Linked DNA regions of Homo sapiens: region 1 is linked to region 2. Evidence: promoter capture Hi-C in human tissues and cell types (Jung and others, 2019). All regions are on one chromosome and are shown on one strand. The core of a region is centred on a gene start or on the middle of the fragment in contact, and the rest is flanking DNA. Distances in the headings are between cores, read along the strand shown. Region 1 has its middle 38 kb from the start of KCNF1. Region 2 holds the start of KCNF1 (potassium voltage-gated channel modifier subfamily F member 1).

Region 1 (5,377 bases), core at 496-2,995, 37 kb after region 2:
AACTTCCTGAGCTTGTTCTTTCTGATCATAAGCATGACACATGCTTATTACACAAAATGAAAATAATTCATAAAGGTTCAAATAAAAATGTAAATCTAACCACACAGAGACAATGAATCATCGCTCTCGTGTTGGGGAACATCATTCCAGATTTTCCTGGGCACATATGGTTTTATGGGGAGCAGACAATACTCCTGGTCTGCAAGCCAAGAAGGGAAGGGACCCAGCTGAGCTGTGGTCTCCCATGGGAAGCGGGTGGCAGGGGGACCCCTGGCTGGGGGCTACTGGGTGCCCAGCCCCACACTACCTCCTCTGCAGCCACTGCCTCACTTGTTCTCACAACACCCTCTAGGGCATGGATTACTGTCCTCACCTTCATGTCAAGAAATTAACCCCAGATTCTTGGCAGAGTTGGGATTTAAGCCTGGACGGCAGACAGGGAAGCTGCCGTTAGAGGTTGGGAAGGTCCCTGGGGAGGAGTGGGCAGCGGGGGGCTGCTTTGCAGGCACGGAGAGGCCTAGCCAGCCCAGGAGGTCCTCTGCACTGACGCCCCTGTCACAGAACCGAGCCTCTCGGAACACTGCAGCTGCAAGATCAAACCTCAAATTGGGCAGAATAAGTCCTTAAAGATGGTTTTCTCTGGTGATTACACTGGCTGGTGAGCAAACCTTATTAGTAATTAGCTTGCCAAAGATAGCAGCCCCTCAGAGAGCAGAAGACACGGTAATTACTGCAGCCAGCCTTTCTAACTATTTCCAGCAGAAATCAACACCAAGCCCCTGGGACTGCTGGGGACAGTTTTAAATTCTGGAGCGGAGGCCCAGGACTCTGCTGCACATTCTCTGTGTGACCAAGCATGCCTCCCTCTTTGCCATGACCAAGCACATCCCTCTCTTTGAGACTCTTTTCTCTCATCCGTTCAACAGTGATAACAACTCGCCTTCATTACTGCACTTCATTCATAGCTATGTGGCTTCATGCTCATGTGAACTACTAGATGGTGGTGGTGGGGTTGGGCATAGAGGGGCAGCTTTGCTGACATGGAGACGTTAGAGGTGAACCACAGGGGACCCGTCAAGCAGAGGACGAAGGGAGTGCATCTGAGGACGGGGCCTAGTGCGGAGCCACATCAGCAGGGGCCATGCCCTGAAGGCCTGGGGCCTCACTCCTGGAGTATGAGCCTTGTCCTGACAGCTGCCAGGAGTTACTGGATTGTCTAAAGCAGGAATGGACAAGTCAGATAATTGCCGAAAAGGAAAACTCTGAAGATAGGGCACTAATGGCCTGGGAGAGGAGAAATGGACAACAGGAGACCAGTTAGGGGCCATGGCAGGGATTCAGGGGGGCTGTCAAGGGTGTGCAGCCCCCTACAGACCTGCCAGTGGTGACAAGAACAAGGGTGAGGCTGACTGTATCAAGGGCAGAAGGGGACATCATTCGCATGCGGCCTTTGAGGATGTGTTGGGGTGCCTGGTGTGGAGTTGGTGGGGAGGACACCGGGAGAGGAAACGAGGTGGGAACCGGGGAGGGCAAGGGATTGGGCTGCTCTGCTGAGAGGAGTGAGGTCTCTGGTCAACGGGCAATGCCAGCCCCCAAGAGTCTTCTTTGGGTTGTTGTGAGAAGGAAGAGGCTTGGGCATGGCATGGCTACAGGTAAGGGGCCATCCGGCACACTCAGAGCACACTGGGGCTGGGGTAGATGGTGGCACCTGTCTTGGCTGGAGGAGTTGGGAGGGCTGGGGAAGGGACGTGTGATCTCCTCTCCGATAAACCTGGACGAGATGCCAAGTATAACACAGAGGCTGGCGGCGGGGCCTCCTCCTGTTCCCGGTGGATCAACTCATTGTGGGACTTTGGGCAACTTTCATTGCTGTTTGGGTTCCGGCTTCCAGAGCTGGCTCTCAATGACCTCGAGGTCCATGACTCTGGCTCAGTGGAATGGCCCAGGCTTAGTGATAACTTCTGAGCCTGGAGGACCTGGGGCAGATGGATGGGCTGGGCAGGCTCTCTCTTAGTGCTTGCCTGAGTTCCTCCAGGAAGGTAGAAGTGCCCACACTCTGTAAGTGAGGAAACCAGGGTCCAGGCAGACATGCCCAAGGCTGCCCCATGGTGAGTGGCAGAGCTGGGCTTCCGCTCAGGCCTGCCTGGCCCCACTGCTCACACCCTCCCTACACAGGAGCATCATGAGAACCAGTGCACCCACCTGGAAAGGAAGACCTTGCATTTGATTTGTTTAAAATGTAAAACTATATCATGTGATTTTCCAGGTGAAATAGATCTTTCAAGGACTCCTCCGCTACTTCTGCCTTGCCTAAGCTTATGTCCCTTCTATTAGAAGCAGAGATCAGCTTGTCAAGACCAGGGGAAAGTGATTTTAAAATTCCCAGATTGGCTCCTGCCTCAAATACACACAGCTTTTATTATGACCTAGCCAAAAAGAAAAAATGTAGTAAAAGTGCTAATAGATTACAACATGAAGTGACCAAGTCTATTCAAATGACCACTTTAGCCAGTGGGCTCAGAGATGGTGTCTGAAAATGGAATTGCAATGTAGAACCTTAAATATCTCATGAATCCCCCTAGTTTGTGCTTGGCTCATAAACACTGCACAAATAACATTGGCTGGATGGCTGGGTGGATGGATGGATGGATGGATGGATAAGTGAATGGATGAATGGATGGATAGGTATACGTTTGGGTGGCTGGGTGGCTGGGTGGATGGATGGATGGATGGGTAAAGGGATGGGTGGATGGATGGATAAGTGGAGAAATGGATGGGTGGGTGAGTGGGTGAATGTCTGTATGGATGGATAGATGAGTGTGGGTGGGTGGATGTATATATGGATGGATGGATGTTTGGGTAGATGGGTGAGTGGGTGGATGGATGGATGGATGGATGGTTGGATGGATGGATGAACACATAAAATGCCCTCCCTCTCTTCTTTCAACTATCTAAATTCAAGATCTAATATGGTTTGGTTCTGTGTCCCCACCCAAATCTCATCTTGAATTGTAATCCCCATGTGTCAGGAGAGGAACCTGGTGGGAGGTGATTGGATCATGGGGGTGGTTTCCCCCATGCTGTTCTCATGATAGTGAGTTCTCATGAGATCTGGTGGTTTAAATGTGTGTTCCTACTCACTCCCTCTTTCTCCTGCCATGTAGGATGTGCTTTGCTTCCTCTTCGTTTTCTGCCGTAATTTTAAGTTTCTTGAGGCCTCTCCAGCCATGCAGATCTGTAAGTCAATTAAATCTCTTTTCTTCATAAATTACTCAGTCTCTGGTAGTTGTTTTTTTTTTTTTTTGTTTGTTTTGTTTTTTTTTTTTTTTTGCAACAGAGTCTCGCTGTGTCACCCAGGCTGGAGTACAGTGGCGCGATCTCGGCTCACTGCAAGCTCTGCCTCCCAAGTTCACGCCATTCTCCTGCCTCAGCCTCGCAAGCAGCTGGGACTACAGGTGCCCGCCACCACGCCTGGCTAATTTTGTGTGTGTGTGTGTGTGTGTGTGTGTGTGTGTTTTTAGCAGAGACTGGGTTTCACCATGTTAGCCAGGATGGTCTTGATCTCCTGACTTTGTGATCCGCCCGCCTCGGCCTCCCAAAGTGCTAGGATTACAGGCTTAGGTAGTTCTTTATAGCAGTGTGAGAATGGACTAACACAACATCTAACCTCAGAGATCCATCCTCTTCCAGGAAACCCTTCCCGACTATTCTGTCCCACAAAACTGTCTCCCACATGAACAATCCTCTCTTCTATATCACCCCTCTCAGAGGAGCAGATTACCTATGGTTGCTCTTTGGAAAAGACCCCAACATAGTTGGAGTCTTGTTTTCTGTACTAGACCATGAGCTCCCAGAGGTTGAGGCCCTATCTGTGTCTCTGCCTCCCTACCGCACTTGGCCAGGGTCTCACATGGTGTCTGCTGGGTAAGTGAGGAGTGAGGGGTGGGCACTGCTGCCACCTGGACTGGGTTGGTGAAATGCCACCGCAGCAGGGGAGATGGGAACAAGGCAATGTGTCCCAGTCATACTGCACTCAGCCAGTCAGCTGCCATGGAATCTCCCTCCTCAGGAGCCTCCCTGTACTGGATACCAGGATAAAGAAACTTTATTTGCCAAGAAGCGGCATCTCAGTCTCTTCTAGCCTGGTTTCCTCAGGGCAATTCATTGTCTTTTGGGTAAGTGCTCAGACTTCCAGGCATCCCCCATCTCTGACTGCTCTTCCTCTGAGATGTGGGTTGTGGGTGTGATTGTGTGTGTGTCTGGGAGCGTGGAGGCTTGTGTGGTCCCCTGGACATGTGGATGGGTCCTTTGCTCTTCTTTGGTGTGGGTGCCCAGATTGCCCTTGCTCAGGCCCTGGCTTTGTGAGTGCCCACTTGACCCTTCAGGGTACCCAATGCTGGAGGAGATGTGGCCATGCATCCATTCTGCCCCCAGGCCTTGGGAATTTTTGGGTCCTCTGCAGTACTCACAGGTGTCAACACATCATCTGCCAGCCTGGACACCTCTCTCCTGAGAGCCACACTCTAGCAGCTGCACACCAAGAGGCGGGTGCATTCACTCCCAGGCCAGAGGCCACAGCCACCCAGGGATGTGGGTGCGAAGACTGTGATGTGTACAGGTTTCCTAGGCTCAGACATGGGAGGTGGCTTAGCCAAGACTACACAACCAGAGAGAAAGACCCAGAACCGACTCCAGTACCTGGGTTGTTTCTAGCTGCCAGAGTAATGCTTTTCCTGAGTCTATGAAGCCACCCGGGCTTAGGGCTTACCACACTGAACATCTGTTTGCAGCATCAGGCATGGAAACCACGCTGGGTCAATGCCAACTTTCGTGCTGTTTGGCTGGGCAGTAAGGACAGAATCCCCAGTTCCCACCCTCCAAGGTGCAGAATCTGGCCCAGAGGAACAAGCTGCCCACACAAAAGAATGAAAACAGACACGGCAGTAGCTGAGCTCAGGGTGGTGAGGGGAGGGGATAGGAGGACATGCTCAGTGTGGGATTGCATCTCCAGAAAGTGGGGTGCACAAGGCAGGTTTATACCTCCAGGAGCTGCAGCCAGCTTTTATGCTGGAAAAAACTCCCCTCCCCCTGCAGCAGCCATCCTGAGGAATCCACAGTTCCCGGAAGGGCTGAGCGCCCTTTCAGCTCCACATCTCTGAGGCCCAGGTACCTGTGCTGAAGCTCTGACCTGGAAGACGAAGCTGAAAAAGTGGCTGGAGCAGGCAGGCATAAGCTTGGTGGCAGGGAATTGTCCCTGCAGAATCCTGTCTTCCCAGGGAGCCTCAGCCTTCCCTCCTGGCTCAAGGAGGGGCTGATTTAACTACAGATTGCTTGCTTAAGAACCACCAGTTGCCTCTTGCTGGGACCAGAGACCTGA
Region 2 (4,937 bases), core at 1,506-4,005:
TTATTTTCTGCATTCCTGATGACTGGCAATGTGGCCTCACAGACTGGAGAGACTGCCCCTCCCAGTGGGTGACATCCTTAGAGATTGCGAAAGGCTGGAGCGTATCTTTCACAGGCAAACCCACCAATTCCAGGCCCAGACCCCCAACTTCCCCTCATCAAACTCTCACACACCAAGGCAATATTTCCCTGCCCTAAATCATCCCAGACCAGGGACCAGGCAACTAGAGACCACCTCTGTAGTTCAAAGCCCACCAGAATTATCCCAAGGAGCCAATCCTGGACTCTTTCCTCTGTTCTGCCCTAACTTTTCCCCCAGGAAACCCCAATAGAGGGCCTGGCCTCGTTTTCCCCTCGCTCCTGCTTCTGCCTGGCCACACCTGGAATTTCCTCTGGCGTGTCCTCTTCTCTCAGGACATGTTAGTAATGCGTTCTTTCAATGACATTGATCTCTCTAAATCCCAGCGGTATAATTTTAATGCACCAGCCTCTCCTGGGCCTGCCCAGGTATCTGCAAACTCCCGGGTTCCACAGCACCTTGTATTTCATGACGATACAAAGGAGTAGCTATTGGGGCTCTATCTGCTGAGGGAGATTCATCAGACACCCCGATGCAAACCTGAGTGAGTGAAGGCTGGGCTTCTAGGCAAATGCAGCCCCTCCCTCTTCCAACCAGATGGCCGCCCCTCAGCGCCCCCTGTGGAGAAATTCAGGAAGCACCACTCTTGTATAATACATATACCCCTCTTGTTAAGGTCATTACCCCAAACTGTTAATTATTATTTACAAAAAACATATTATCTACTAGAATATGAACCCTGTCCCCACACCTAGGGTGGTGTGTGTATGTGTGTGTGTGTGCATTTGCACACATGTGCCATAAGAGCTCGATAAATATTTGAATAACTGAGTGAATGAATGGGTATTTAGAAGCCCATTAAGCTCAGACTAGGATGCAATTTGAACTTAACCCTGCAGGTACTCGGACAGCTGATAAGGGGAGTAGCATGCATAAGGATTGGAAGAGGAAGCTGGGGTGTGTGTAGGAGGTGGTGTGTAGCACTGTACTGGGGAGAAGAATAGGCCTCAGAACCCAGCAGGACAATGGTTAAATCCCAGCTCCACAGAGTGATCTCGGCAGGTTACCTGACATCTTGTTTCCTTAGGGGTTGCTGGGAAATTAAATGACAAAAATGCAAAGCACTCAGAGACTGCACTCCGATGCCCATGGAGAATAAGTGGCAACTCTTATTATTACTCAACCTTTCTGAGCCTCGATTTCCTACTCTGTAGTAGCATGTCATTGTCTGATGCTAAATGGAAATGAAGTAAAATTTGTAAAACGAAGTTTCACTAAATAATACTTCATGTGATGTATTCTAATATATTCTGTTTTATGCTAACTCATTAAAGAAAAAAGAATACTGTCAGTGACCCAGTAAATTGATTTCATAATCCATTAACGGACATGTCCTTAAGTTTTAAAAAACCCAGCCTACAGAATACATTTTTAAATAGACTTTATATTTTAGAGCACAATTCAACAGAAAGTACAGAGAATTCCCACATGCCCCCTGTCTCCACAGCTCTCCCCTGCGCATCAACATCTCACACAGGGTGGGACACTTGTCATGGTGGACCACCCCACATGGACACGTCATCATCGCCCAGCACCGAGTTTGCATTAACATTCGCTCCTGGTGGTGAACATTCTATGGATTTTGACCATTGCATAACGACACATATCCGCCATTATGGTACGTTTCACTGCCCTAAAAATCCTCTGCTCTGCCTATTCATTCTTCCCTCCAGAATATTTTTAACACGATCTCGAGGCCATAGATGATATCAGTAATTTGCAGTATTGATGATAGTGGTGAACCGGAGGAGAGAGACACTGTTAGGAAGCTGCTGTAGTGGTTCAGGTGAGTGAGGACAGAAGGACAGCTGTGGCTGCAAAGGCTGGAAGAGAGGAGGGTGTGGGACACTGGTCAGGAAGAGACAGGCCTTGGTCAAGGAGTGAGGAACGGGGAAGCAGGAGCCACTGGACCCTAGGGGTCTGGAAGCTAGTGGCCTTGGTGTGGGACTGCAGAGAGATAGGAGGTGCCAGACGGCAGGGACTTCAAGGCAGAATTGAAATCTGCTGAACAGCAGGCGTCGGTCAGCTGGGACAGCCGGAAAGCTCGGGATCAGGAGGCGGTCAAGCTGAGCTCTGCTCTCATTCCGCCGCGTGACCTTGGGCAAGTCCCTTCCCTTCTACAGGAGGCTGGACTAGATGTCCTCCTTGTACAGCGTTGCGGGGAAGGTGAGACAGTGCCACCAACACAGCAGGGCATTGCTGGGTCGGGGGGATGGGGCAGGAAACGCTTCAAGGATCAGGCAGGATTTTCCTCCCACCAGGAAAAGCCGGCGCGGGTCTAAGGCCGGAGGAGGGACCCAGACATAGGAGTCACCTTCTAAGGGGCTTCCTGGAGCACATTTTCCTGCCCAGCAACAGGCGGCAGCATTCTCTCCCCACTAATCCTCTCCAAACAGCAGTGAGAGAGAATGCCTGCCGCTTCAAGCCAGGTCGCAACCCCTCGGTGACCCGCTGCGCCCGAGGAGGGGCCGGCGGTGCGCGGTGGTGGCGGCGGGCGCGGCAGCTGTGCCCGTCTGCCCAAGGGTTAATCCGTCCCCTGCAGCTGCCGCGCGTGCCTTGCAGAATTTCACCAGAAGAGGGTACAGTTTGAAAAGCTCCTGACGTCAGGCTGGAATTCCTATTGTGTTTAGAAAAGGCTCGGGCAAAGCCAGCCCAAGTTCGCTCTCTGCACACCTCGAGCACCTCGCGGACGGCGTGGGTCCGCCAGCTCCGGGACCTGCCGCCGCTGCCTGCGCGCCCCGGGGCGGAGGACGGTGCCAGCCGCCCACGAGGAGACCCCGCTCCCGCAGGAGGCCGAGCTGAAGCGGCGGAGCGCGCCGCCAGCCAGCCGGGGTGAGTGCCCCGGGCGAGGCCGGCGGCCGCCAAAGCCCCCGCGGGCTCGCCCGGGCGCCCGGATGCCAGCCCCGAGCCCCGCCGCCGGGTGCATGCCTCCCCCGCGGCGCGCCCCCGCAGGCTGCTGCCCGCTGTGACCGCCCTTCCCCGCAGGCGGGCGCCGGCCAGGCTCTCCCCGAGATCAGCGCACGGGTGGCACCCGCCGGACCCCCAGCGGCAGCGGCGGCGGCGGCTGCAGGGGGCGCGGGGCGGAGGCTGCGAGGGCGCGCGCGGGGAGGATGGACGGGTCCGGGGAGCGCAGCCTCCCGGAGCCGGGCAGCCAGAGCTCCGCTGCCAGCGACGACATAGAGATAGTCGTCAACGTGGGGGGCGTGCGGCAGGTGCTGTACGGGGACCTCCTCAGTCAGTACCCTGAGACCCGGCTGGCGGAGCTCATCAACTGCTTGGCTGGGGGCTACGACACCATCTTCTCCCTGTGCGACGACTACGACCCCGGCAAGCGCGAGTTCTACTTTGACAGGGACCCGGACGCCTTCAAGTGTGTCATCGAGGTGTACTATTTCGGGGAGGTCCACATGAAGAAGGGCATCTGCCCCATCTGCTTCAAGAACGAGATGGACTTCTGGAAGGTGGACCTCAAGTTCCTGGACGACTGTTGCAAGAGCCACCTGAGCGAGAAGCGCGAGGAGCTGGAGGAGATCGCGCGCCGCGTGCAGCTCATCCTGGACGACCTGGGCGTGGACGCAGCCGAGGGCCGCTGGCGCCGCTGCCAGAAGTGCGTCTGGAAGTTCCTGGAGAAGCCCGAGTCGTCGTGCCCGGCGCGGGTGGTGGCCGTGCTCTCCTTCCTGCTCATCCTCGTCTCGTCCGTGGTCATGTGCATGGGCACCATCCCCGAGCTGCAGGTGCTGGACGCCGAGGGCAACCGCGTGGAGCACCCGACGCTGGAGAACGTGGAGACGGCGTGCATTGGCTGGTTCACCCTGGAGTACCTGCTGCGCCTCTTCTCGTCACCCAACAAGCTGCACTTCGCGCTGTCCTTCATGAACATTGTGGACGTGCTGGCCATCCTCCCCTTCTACGTGAGCCTCACGCTCACGCACCTGGGTGCCCGCATGATGGAGCTGACCAACGTGCAGCAGGCCGTGCAGGCGCTGCGGATCATGCGCATCGCGCGCATCTTCAAGCTGGCCCGCCACTCCTCGGGCCTGCAGACCCTCACCTATGCCCTCAAGCGCAGCTTCAAGGAACTGGGGCTGCTGCTCATGTACCTGGCAGTGGGTATCTTCGTCTTCTCTGCCCTGGGCTACACCATGGAGCAGAGCCATCCAGAGACCCTGTTTAAGAGCATCCCCCAGTCCTTCTGGTGGGCCATCATCACCATGACCACCGTCGGCTACGGCGACATCTACCCCAAGACCACGCTGGGCAAGCTCAACGCGGCCATCAGCTTCTTGTGTGGTGTCATCGCCATCGCCCTGCCCATCCACCCCATCATCAACAACTTTGTCAGGTACTACAACAAGCAGCGCGTCCTGGAGACCGCGGCCAAGCACGAGCTGGAGCTGATGGAACTCAACTCCAGCAGCGGGGGCGAGGGCAAGACCGGGGGCTCCCGCAGTGACCTGGACAACCTCCCTCCAGAGCCTGCGGGGAAGGAGGCGCCGAGCTGCAGCAGCCGGCTGAAGCTCTCCCACAGCGACACCTTCATCCCCCTCCTGACCGAGGAGAAGCACCACAGGACCCGGCTCCAGAGTTGCAAGTGACAGGAGGGCCCCTCAGGCAGAGATGGACCAGGCGGTGGACAGATGGGTAGATGTGGCAGGCATGTCATCGACAGCACAGAAGGGCTGTCCTGTGTCCCCCCAACCCTCCCCTGGACAGACTCTGAAGGCCCTCCCGGCACCTCTGCCAAGGCTGGGTAAGACTCCTCTATGTTGCCTGCTGTCCAGGAGCCCGGGAGGGAGGGG

What was found. Contacts are between HindIII fragments. The study calls those that stand out against the background at their distance.
Region 1: a fragment that was not itself captured here is called in contact with the fragment with the promoter of KCNF1 in region 2 in 1 of the 25 tissues and cell types used here (IMR-90 fibroblasts).

The regions. Positions count from the first base shown.
Region 1 is chr2:10,947,253-10,952,629 of GRCh38, forward strand. No RefSeq gene overlaps it. Among named protein-coding and RNA genes, the nearest start is that of KCNF1, 38 kb to the left of the region's middle. The HindIII fragment of the contact is 4,058 bases long and covers 1-3,774 here.
Region 2 is chr2:10,909,179-10,914,115 of GRCh38, forward strand. It overlaps KCNF1 (potassium voltage-gated channel modifier subfamily F member 1), which reads left to right and starts at 2,756. Exons shown (of 1, transcript NM_002236.5): 1 at 2,756-4,937. The coding sequence starts at 3,249. The coding sequence ends at 4,733. RefSeq lists an enhancer at 1-301. The HindIII fragment of the contact is 13,350 bases long and covers 1-4,937 here.